Linked DNA regions of Homo sapiens: regions 2 and 3 are each linked to region 1. The links are contacts of gene promoters, found by promoter capture Hi-C in human tissues and cell types (Jung and others, 2019). All regions are on one chromosome and are shown on one strand. The core of a region is centred on a gene start or on the middle of the fragment in contact, and the rest is flanking DNA. Distances in the headings are between cores, read along the strand shown. Region 1 holds the start of ZNF33A (zinc finger protein 33A). Region 2 has its middle 38 kb from the start of ZNF248-AS1. Region 3 has its middle 15 kb from the start of ZNF37A.

Region 1 (3,564 bases), core at 660-3,159:
AGAGATGAAACAATTTTGTGTCTTGCTTGTAGTGGTGGTTACACAAATCTATGCATTGTCAAAACTCATAAAATTATGCATCAAATAAAGAACTTTTCAGTATATAAAGCATAAATTAAAAAATGTAAATTTCAATAAATGTTTCACGTATTTTTACTCAAATATTTGCATTTCTTTCTTTTTTTTTTTTTTTGAGACGCAGTGTCGCTCTGTCACCAGGTTGGAGTGCAGTAGCGCAATCTTGGCTCACTGCAACCTCCCCATCCTGGGTTCAAACGATTCTCCTGCCTCAGCCTCCTGAGTAGCTGAGACTACAGGTGTGCACCACAACGCCCCACCTAATTTTTGTATTTTTAGTACAGAAGGGGTTTCACCATGTTGGGCAGGATAGTCTCGATCTCTTGACCTCATGATCTACCCGCCTCAGCCTCCCAAAATGCTGGGATTACAGGCGTGAGCCACCACGCCTGGCCATATTTGCATTACTTTCAATTCTCATAATGGACTTAAAAAGTTTTGCTGGAATGGAGTTGCTTATTTTTCTCTATTATAAAATGTGACTGATATTAAATTTATAGTTTCTGTCTTTGGCATCACATCCCTTGTTGTTTTTTTTGAGACAAGGTCTCACTTTGTCACCCATGCTGGAGTGCAGTGGTGCCATGATGGCTTACTGCAGCCCGGGGCTCAAGTGATCCTCCAACCTCAGCCTCCTGAGTAGCTGGGATCACAGGTGCCTGCCTACATGCCAGGCTAATTGTTATTTTTAGTTTTTTGTAGAGATGGGGGTCCCACTATAGTGCCCAGGCTGGTCTTGAACTCCAAGGATCAAGTGGTCCTCCTGCCTCCGCCTCCCAAAGTGCTGGGGTTACAGGTGTGGGCCACTGTGCCTGGTCCACTTGTCAATTTTCAAAAATTTTTACTCTTTTAGTGGTTTAAATGTTTAAGTATTGTATACATGTGAGATTTTATCATGTGTGATCTATGTATATCTCTACATTCCAAATTGCTCGGAATGACATGCTCTTTGGAATACTCCATTCTTTCCCTCACTGTTTTGAAATGCTGTATCTACTACACATTAAAGAATACTCTTAAGCTGTCTTATTTCCATGGAGCAGGTGCCAAACTACTTTGAATAGAGCAATATTATATAGATAGATGTAGATAGATACAGATATTCCTTAGGCATTTTTTTCCTGCTTTTTAAAATGTATACTGGCTGTTCATTTGGGTTTTTACTTATTCTAGATAAAGTTGAGAATGCTTTTGTGAAGTACAGAATACACTAAAGATCAAAGAGAAAAAATACATAACAAAAATTTGTTGATATTCTTTTAGGAATTTTGTCTTCCTAAGAAAGGTACAGATAGACTAAAAGTATTTCCATTTAGTCAAGCAATTTTAATGTCACAGAGGAAATCATACGTGACATTTATTTTCTTCTTTCAGATTATGTCTAGTTCCTTACTGAGCTACAATTTCCGTTTATTGCTTTAACCATTTTGATGAAGTAGCTTTCCGGCCGCACCTTCCCCTTTTTTCCCCCGCTCCCAAAGAACCGCTGATAGCATGAAAGTCTTTTAAACTGTATGGACGAGATCTATTTCCTAACATTTAAACGGAAAATGACACGCAGCGGTCCTTTCCTTGAGCGTCTGCGTCTAAACTGCCCACAGACCTCCCCCGCAGTATATCCCTTTGGAGTGCCCCGGGGAAAGCCAGGGCTGCAGGCAGTTCCAGCACCAACTCAGACCGCATCTGCCCACTGCCTAGCGGGGCACTTCTCTACCAATCCGAAGGGCTGCTCGCCCGGCCTCACGGGAAAGGTAGTTTCCAGGTAGGGCGCCAACAGCATCAAGCTGTGCGCGTGGGCTCTGCGCATGCCTCGTCCGCCGGCTACGTCTGCGTTTCCGCCTTTCCTTTTGTTTTTCTCAGGTTTTGCGTGGGAGGCGGTCCCGGGATTTCAAGGGTCTACGCGCTTTTCTATGGCGAATGCAACCCGACGAGGGAGTGGGGTAAGCCCCAGTGGGTTGGGCAGGGAGAGAGAGGGAGCCCCGCGCGACTCCTGGGGCGGGCGGCAGGGGGCCGGTACCAAGTGGTGGGGAGGAGGCCCGGGGACCTCATAGGGGAAGGCGGGGACGGCGGGGCTGCAGCGTGTGGGCCACGACGCTAGGCCGGTTCCTCAAAGGCGCGGCCTCTGTACGGAGCAGGGTACGCAGCGTGTGTCGCCCCATTTGTGGGGGCCGCGGAGGAGGGCATGTGCGCTTGCGCAGTCCGCGCGCTGAGCCTTGCGGGAGGGGCAGTTCTCTTGTCTAGCCTGTGCGCGTGTGCTAGGGCGCCGCGGTACGTGGGCGGGGAAAGGCGGGTGCAGTCGCCCGCCAGACCGGCAGACTCGGTTGCACGTATTGCATTCATCCTCTTTAGGTTCCGAACTGACCTCCAGTCAGGTCCATCACTGCATCTTGGTATTTGCTGTTCCTCTGTCCTGACTTGATCTTGCACTCAGGAAAGATCTTCAAGAATTACCTAATTTTGGCCTGGCGCGGTGGCTCTCGCCTGTAATCCCAGCACTTTGGGAGGCCGAGGCGGGTGGATCACCTGAGGTCAGAAATTCGAGACCAGCCTGACCAACATGGTGAAACCCCGTCTCTACTAAAAATACGAAAAGTAGCCGGGCGTGGTGGCGCATGCCTGTAATCCCAGCTACTGAGGCGGAAAATTGCTTGAACCCGGGAGGCGGAGGTTACAGGTAGCCAAGATCGCACTATTGCACTCCAGACTGGGCAACAAGAGCGAAACTCCGTCTCAAAAAAAAACAAAAACAAAGAATTACCTAATTTTGCCTCATTTGTTAGAAGAAAAAGATTTTTTTTGTTTTTTTGTTTGTTAAGGTCACTGACTTGTTCAGGATCACAGTTAGTAGGGAAGACTAAGTCACATCTCCTGACCCCTAAGCCAGTACTGTCTACTTTTCCACACACATCAAAGCAAGTTTAAAATATCCCTTTGAGAAATAGCAACAAAGTTAGATGAAGAAATTAAAACTGATTTTTTCTTTGAAGCACTGCCGCTTATGGCTTTCTGTGGAGTCACTCACCAGAGGTTAAGTAACATTACTGGGAAAATAGATAGCTTAGTCCTATTTTTTACAATGGTTTTAGTGTTAATGTTCCTTCATTAAATATATTGTTAACTTGTTTGGCCAATATTGTCATTATACTTTTTTTTGTGAACACCGAGGGAGATTGAAATCCTTAGGAAGCAAATATTTACTTTCACCCGGTAAAAAATCTTGTGCCCAAGAGCTACATAATTATGTTGGAGTTATTCTTTCACCATTTCTACCGCCTATTCCGAAGTGTTCTTCCACCATTTCTACCCCCTATTCCAAAGTGTCAGAGGACATTGATACTCTCCCAGAGGAAGCATTTTACCTAGTGGGTGTGTATGGCTTCTTAGGGCGGAAGAATCCAGGAGTTGCCAGGCAGGCCAAATCTTTCATGACCCCATTCCTCTTTTTCTAACTCAGCTGTATCTTCAGAGTTGTCTCCGTCTTTCCAA
Region 2 (3,564 bases), core at 725-3,224, 110 kb before region 1:
AAATAAAACCATTCCTCTGACATTTTTCTTCTCTTTTTTTCTTTTTCTTTTTTTTTCCTTTTGAGACAGAGTTTTGCTCTTGTTGCCCAGGCTGGAGTGCAATGGCGTGATCTCAGCTCACCGCAGCCTCCACTTCCTGGGTTCAAGCGATTCTCCTGTCCAGCCTCCCTAGTAGCTGGGATTACAGGCATGTGCCACCATACCCAGCTAATTTTGCATTTTTAGTAGAGACGGGGTTTCTTCATGTTGGTCAGGCTGGTCTTGAACTCCCAACCTCAGGTGATCCTCCCTCCTGGGCTTCCCGAAGTGCTGAGATTACAGGTGTGAGCCACCACGCCTGGCCTCCTCTGATATTTTTCTAGAACACTGTTAACTACTAGTTTTCCTTGCCCCCTCATTCTCTGCATGTCCCATTTCTAGATTAGCCATTTTTATATTTATATTATTTATTTTATATATTTTTAGTATCATTTTTATATCTAATGTTTTATGTCATTATTTGTGTCTATTCTATATTCACTGTGCTTTATGGTTATTTGTAACCTCTGTGTTGTTTCAAAGTACGTATTTGTAAATTGCCCATTGTGTGTTCTAAATTTCCACCCTACTTTCCACATTATAAGGTTTCATGTTTATTTTCTTCTAGCCAAAGGGCTGGAGGAGATTAACACTTTTTGGATTACTTTATTCCAGGAAACTAAGTCAACTACATATAAAAGCGCGTATGTATGTAAGTGTAATTTCATCACAAATATCACAAGACTCATAAGTTGTGGTTATTTTTTCTTATTTCTAGAAGTCTGCAAAGTGGATGATCAACTAGAGCACTGTCAGGAAATCCAGGACAGACATATCTGGCAAGCTCCATATATCAACAATAGAACACTGACTATAGAGAGAGGTAACATAGTAGGAAAAGTGTTTGATTTCAGCATACACCAACTTCCTTCCATAAAAATACCTTGTAAATGTGACTTATGTGGTATGAGTTTGCAATACATTTCAGATTTATTTAATAGTAAGAAAAACTATTTAAGAAAGATGCCTCATGACCTCAGTGCATATGGAAAACTATTCCTCAATAGTAACCATGAAAAAACTCATATGGAAGAGAAACCTTATGAGTTTATTCAAAATGGAAAATGTCTCAGTCATAAGGAGGACTTCATTTCATATCTGAGAATTCAAAATTTAGAGCAATCTTTTGAATATAAGGAATGTGAAAAGGATTTCTATGGAAAGGCAGTTTTCATTACATATAAGCAAGCTTACACAGGAGCGAGTCCTTGTGTACACAATGAATGTAATAAAGTGTTCTGTAATAATTCAACTCTCATGGTCCATAAAATGTCAGAAAAAAGAGAAAACTTTTATGAGTTTAATGAATATGAAAAAACCTTTGAGAAGTCCCCTTTCTTGAAACATAAAGTTCATTTGGAGGTGAAACACTATAAACATATTGAAAGTGTAGGAATTTTAACAGATCAAGCTTTCCTAACACAAGAGAGAAAATATTTGAAAGTAACAAATCAGGGGAAGCTTTGTGCGAGAAGTCAGTACTTAATGTAACTCAGAGAACACACAGAGGAGAGGAAGTCTGTGGATGTGAGCCATGTGTAAAACCATTCTATGAAAAGTCAAAGCTAACCAAACATCAAAGAATCCATACAGGGGAGAAACCCTATGAATGTAATAAATGTGAAAAATGCTTTTCTAGGAAATCTCTCCTCACTCTACATCAGAGAGTCCACACAGGAGAGAAACCCTATGTAAGGAATGTGGGAAATGCTTTTCTAGGAATTCACACCTCATAATACATCAGAGAACTCACACAGGAGAGCAACCCTGTGAATGCAAGGAATGTAGAAAAAGCTTCTATCATAAGTCATATCTTACAGTACATCAGAGAATTCACACAGGGGAGAAACCCTATGAATGTAATCAATGTGGAAAAACCTTCATAAGCAACTCTGTTCTCACAATACATCGTAAAACATATACAGGTGAGAAACCCTATGAATGTAATGAATGTGGGAAATCTTTCTCTAGGAGTTCATATCTTACAATACATCAGAGAACTCACCCAGGCGAGAAACCCTATGAATGTAAGGTATGTAGCAAAACCTTTTGCCACAAGTCTGATGCCACTAAACATCAGAAGACTCACCTAGGGGGAAAACCCTATGAATGTACTCAATGTGGGAAAACTTTTAGTCGTAACTCAGGCCTAAAAGTACATCAGAGAACACATGCAAAGGAGAAACCCTATGAATATACTGAGTGTGGGAAATCCTTCTCTGAGAAATCAGTCCTCACAGTACATCAGAGAATACACACAGGGGAAAAACCTTATAAATGTAATGCACGTGGAAAAACCTTCTACAATAAATCAGACCTAACCAAACATCAGAGAACACACACAGGTGAGAAGCCCTGTGAATGTAAGGAATGTGGGAAATTCTTCTCTAGGAATTCATACCTTACAATACACCAGAGAATGCATACAGGAGACAAACCCTATGTGTGTAAAAAATGTGGGAAAACCTTCTACCATAAGGCAGACTATACAGTACATAAGAGAACACACAGAGGGGAGAAATCTTATTACTGTAATAAATGTGGGAAAACCTTTATTTGCAACTCAGTCCTCAAATCACATCAGAGAACACACACAGGGGAGAAGCCCTATGGATGTAATGAGTGTGGGAAGTCCTTCTCTGAGAAATCAGTCCTTACTGTACATCAGAGAATACACACAGGGGAAAAACCTTATAAATGTAATGAATGAGGGAAGTCCTTCTATCATAAGTCAGATCTCACTAAACATTAGAGAACACATACAGTAGAGAAACCCTATGAATGTAATCAGTGTGGGAAAAGCTTCAGTTGCAGCTCAGGCCTCAAAGTACATCAGAGAAGTACAAGGGAGAAACCCTATGAATGTAACCAGTGTGGGAAACCCTCTGAGAAATCAAGTCTCATAGCACATCCAAGGATACACATGGGAAAAAGCTTATAAATGTAGAAATGAGAGAAATCTTTCTCAAGCAATTCATACCTGAAAATACGTAGGAGAAATCAAATAGGACATGACCCCTGTGAATGTAAAGAATTTGGCAAACCTTTTACCATAAGTCATCTTCCAAAGTAAATAAGAGAATAGACGGGGAGGAGCCAAGATGGCCAAATAGGAACAGCTCCGGTCTACAGCTCCCAGGGTGAGCGACGCAGAAGACGGGTGATTTCTGCATTTCCATCTGAGGTACCGGGTTCATCTCACTAGGGAGTGCCAGACAGTGGGCGCAGGTCAGTGGGTGCGTGCACTGTGCGCGAGCCGAAGCAGGGCGAGGCATTGCCTCACTTGGGAAGCGCAAGGGGTCAGGGAGTTCCCTTTCTGAGTCAAAGAAAGGGGTGATGGACGGCACCTGGAAAATCGGGTCACTCCCACCCGAATACTGCGCTTTTCCGACGGGCTTAAAAAACGGCGCACCACGAGATTATATCCCGCACATGGCTCGGAGGGTCCTGGGCCCACGGAGTCTCGCTGATTGCTAGCACAGCAGT
Region 3 (3,564 bases), core at 745-3,244, 69 kb after region 1:
AATTTCTCTAGCTTGTGGTTACTCAGCAGCCCACTTGAATTCTTCTGAAGATAGACTTTGTTTTTTTTTTCTGCCACATGGCCAGGCTGCAGGATGCAAATTTTCCCAACTTTTATGTTCTGGTTACCTTTTAAATAGAAGTTCCAACTTATTTCTTTGCTCCCAAATCAAAGCATAGGCTGTTAGAAGCAGTCACATCAGTTTTTTTGTGTTTTTTTTTTGTTTGTTTTTTCTTTTTTTTTTGAGACAAGGTCTCACTCTGTCACCCAGGCTGAAGTGCCATGCCATGATCATGGCTCACTGCACCCTAGACTTCCCAGGCTTAGGTAATTGTCCCATCTCAGCCTCCTGAGTAGCTGGGACTATGGGCTCAAGCCACCATGCCAGCTATTTTTTTTATATTTTTAGAGATGGGATTTTGCCATGTGGGCTAAAGTGATCTGTCTGCCTTGGCCTCTCAAAGTGCTAGGATTACTGGTGTGAGCCACCATACCTGGCCCATGCCACTTGAACACTTTGCTGCTTAGAATTTTTTTTTTTTTTTTTTTGCCAGATACTCTACGATATCACTGTCAAGTTTAAACTTCCATAGATCCCTAGGACATAGATGAAATCCAGCCAAGCTCTTTGCTAAGGCATAACGTGTGACTTTTGCTCTAGTTTCCAATAAGTTCCTCATTTCCATCTGAGACCTCATCAGCCTGGACTTCACTTTACATATCCCTATCAGCATTTTGGTCACAATCATTTAACCAGTTTCTAAGAAGTTCTAAACTTTCCCTCATCTTCCTGTCTTCTTCCAAGTTCTCCAAACTCTTTCAACCTCTGTCCATTACCTAGTTCCAAAGCTGCTTCCACATTTTCAGGTACCTTTATAGTAATACCCCACTCCTTGGTACCAATTTTCTGTATTAGGCCATTCTCACATTGCTATAAAGAAGTTCCTGGCCAGGTGCGGTGGCTCATGCCTGTAATCCCAGCACTTTGGGAGGCCAAGGTGGGCAGATCATGAGGTCAAAAGTTTGAGACCAGCCTGACCAACATGGTGAAATCCTGTCTCTACTAAAAATACAAAAATTAACCAGGCGTGGTGGCACACGCCTGTAATCCCAGCTACTCAGGAGGCTGAGGGAGGAGAATTGCTTGAACCCAGGAGGAGGAGGTTGCAGTGAGCCAAGATCACGCCACCACACTCCAGCCTGGGCGACAGAGCGAGACTCTGTCTCAAAACAAACAACCCCCCCCCCCCCAAAAAAAAGCAACAACAACAACAACCAAAAAACAAATTCCTGAGACTGAGTAATTTATATAGAAAAGAGATTTAACTGGCTCAGGGTTCTGAAAGCTTTACAGGAAGCATGATACTGACATCTGCATGGTTTCTGGGGAGGCCTCAGGAAACTTAGAATCATAACAGAAGGCTAAGTGGGAGCATGCACATCACATGGCCAGAGCAGGAGCAAGGTAGGAGGAGGTGTCACACACTTTTAAACCAGATCTCACTATTGCAAGAGCAACAACAAGCATTTATGAGATATACACTCCCGTGACCCAGTCACCTCTCACCCAGTCATCTCCAATACTGAGGATTACAATTCACCATAAGATTTGGGCAGGGACACATATCCAAACTATATCAGCCCCCAATCTGGCTCAGAACTCAGGACATTTTAAACCAATTGCCAGTTGATGGCTGTGCCAAGAATCAACTTCCATTCAACTGGCCAACCTTTCATGAGTGGCTAATTGAAATTAACTGAAAATATGCCTGTCTGGGCTGATGCTTTAGTGGTTTAATGAATTAAATCTGTGACCCCAACTGTCTCACTGAGTTAATCTGAGCAACTATCTGAGCAACCTGGAGTAAGGCATACTTGAGAATGGGGAGTACCTAAATAAAGCCTATTTAAATAACTTGGAAGTCAAACCTGATGAAATGAATACTTGAATTTAATTAGACACAGGCATAATGTATTCAAGGTCGTGAGTGAACATTGTACTATAGAGGAATGTAAACATGAAAACTAGCACCATGAGCAGGTAGATATATGGCTCCTAGTATTAGGTTGGTGCAGTAATTGTGGTTTTTTGCCATTGAAAGTAATGGCAAAAACCACAATTACTTGTGCACCAACCTAATAATAGAATGGGAAGTTTCCTGATTACTTGCAACAATTCAGACATATCAAAAAGTTAAGAATATAAAATCATGTTACATCTGCAAAAATTTTTTTTAACCTTTGAGATCAATATTTTAGTATTATAACAGCAGAAATAGAATATGAGGGAAAAGTTAAAAGAGCTGATGGAAAAGTTGAAGGACAAAATTACCGTTCTAGTGAAGTAAAAAGATACACCTTTTGAAGGGGAAAAGAAACAGAGGGCAATGATGTGTGATCTGTAAATAATGTGTAAAACAATAGTAAAGGTTGAACTTCTGAGATATAAATCTCAGAAGTTTTAAAAAGAGACAGATTTGAGAATTAAAAATTATTACCACGTGTAATCTCATTGAGAACAAATCTTTTTTTTCTTTTTTTTTTTTTTTTTCTGGCTCCAAAGATCCTTTACTGAGATCCACTTGAAACACTTTGGTCCTTATCTTGTTAACTGAGTTGACAGGCTGATGGTTGATCTAGGTAAAGGTTTCACGGTAGCCTATAATATATCAAAACAGGTTCCTGAATAATGTATGTGAATGTCGTCAGGGTCTCTGTCCCATCTTCTTCAGGGTTCGATTAAGCTCCTCGAATCTGTGGATCTGACGGATGAAGAAATTCCCATAGCGCCTGGCGACCTTGGTGTCCATGATGTGGATCATGTCCTTATCAATGTAGAAGTCAACCTCTGAGGCTGACTGAAATTCATCATCCAGGGTTGTGATGCTGCTGGTCCACACCAGGTTCTTCAATTTGTGTTTGAAGACAGGAAGCTGGATCCTGAACTCCTGCTCTGTGAGGTCCAGGAAGCCAGCCAGCTTGGCCACAGGCATGGTGGTGTAGAGCTTGAGGAAGCTGCGGATGGTTGAAAGCTGGGCCTGCTGCTGTACTTCATCAGAAAACACCTTCGGCTGCTGCAGGAAGGGCTCTTTGTGGTAGTTGGGGTGCACATTATCGTAGTTGGGCACTACAGGCGACAGGAACTTGGGGCAGAAGTAACTGAAAAGTTCTTCATAGACTTCTGGGTCACCTTTCTGCATGCACAGCATCTTGTTGCTGTATTTATCCCACCGCTGGAGGTGAATGCTCTCATCAATACTCATGGGGTACATCGTGAGGGCAATGGCCAGCAGTGCATGCATCTGCTCATTCTGCTTGTTAATCATCTCATACTTGTATGTGGTCCTCTGGAACATGCTCTTGGTCCTCTGGATGTAGAGGAGGATGTTGGCAAAGACCCGGATGGCATCCTGGTAGTGACACATCATCAAATATGCAAACCCAACATAATAGTATGTGGTGACCTGGCACTCTGGCACACGGGAATATATACTCTTTTTGTTAAGTTCGATGGAGAACAAATCTTAAGCTTAATTTTTAAAAAAAATTTAGTTGGGTATTAATG

Evidence for each region. The method cuts DNA at HindIII sites, captures the fragments that hold promoters and counts their contacts. A contact is called where the count stands out against the background at its distance.
Region 2: a fragment that was not itself captured here is called in contact with the fragment with the promoter of ZNF33A in region 1 in 2 of the 25 tissues and cell types used here (mesenchymal stem cells and thymus).
Region 3: a fragment that was not itself captured here is called in contact with the fragment with the promoter of ZNF33A in region 1 in 6 of the 25 tissues and cell types used here (H1 embryonic stem cells, adrenal gland, dorsolateral prefrontal cortex and 3 more).

What each region holds. Positions count from the first base shown.
Region 1 is chr10:38,008,766-38,012,329 of GRCh38, forward strand. It overlaps ZNF33A (zinc finger protein 33A), which reads left to right and starts at 1,910. Exons shown (of 5, transcript NM_006954.2): 1 at 1,910-2,018; 2 at 3,533-3,564. RefSeq lists an enhancer at 2,433-2,612. The HindIII fragment of the contact is 9,281 bases long and covers 1-3,564 here.
Region 2 is chr10:37,893,806-37,897,369 of GRCh38, forward strand. It overlaps the pseudogene ZNF33CP. Among named protein-coding and RNA genes, the nearest start is that of ZNF248-AS1, 38 kb to the left of the region's middle. RefSeq lists an enhancer at 3,418-3,564. The HindIII fragment of the contact is 3,993 bases long and covers 1-3,564 here.
Region 3 is chr10:38,077,352-38,080,915 of GRCh38, forward strand. It overlaps the pseudogene EIF3LP3. Among named protein-coding and RNA genes, the nearest start is that of ZNF37A, 15 kb to the right of the region's middle. The HindIII fragment of the contact is 6,422 bases long and covers 1-3,564 here.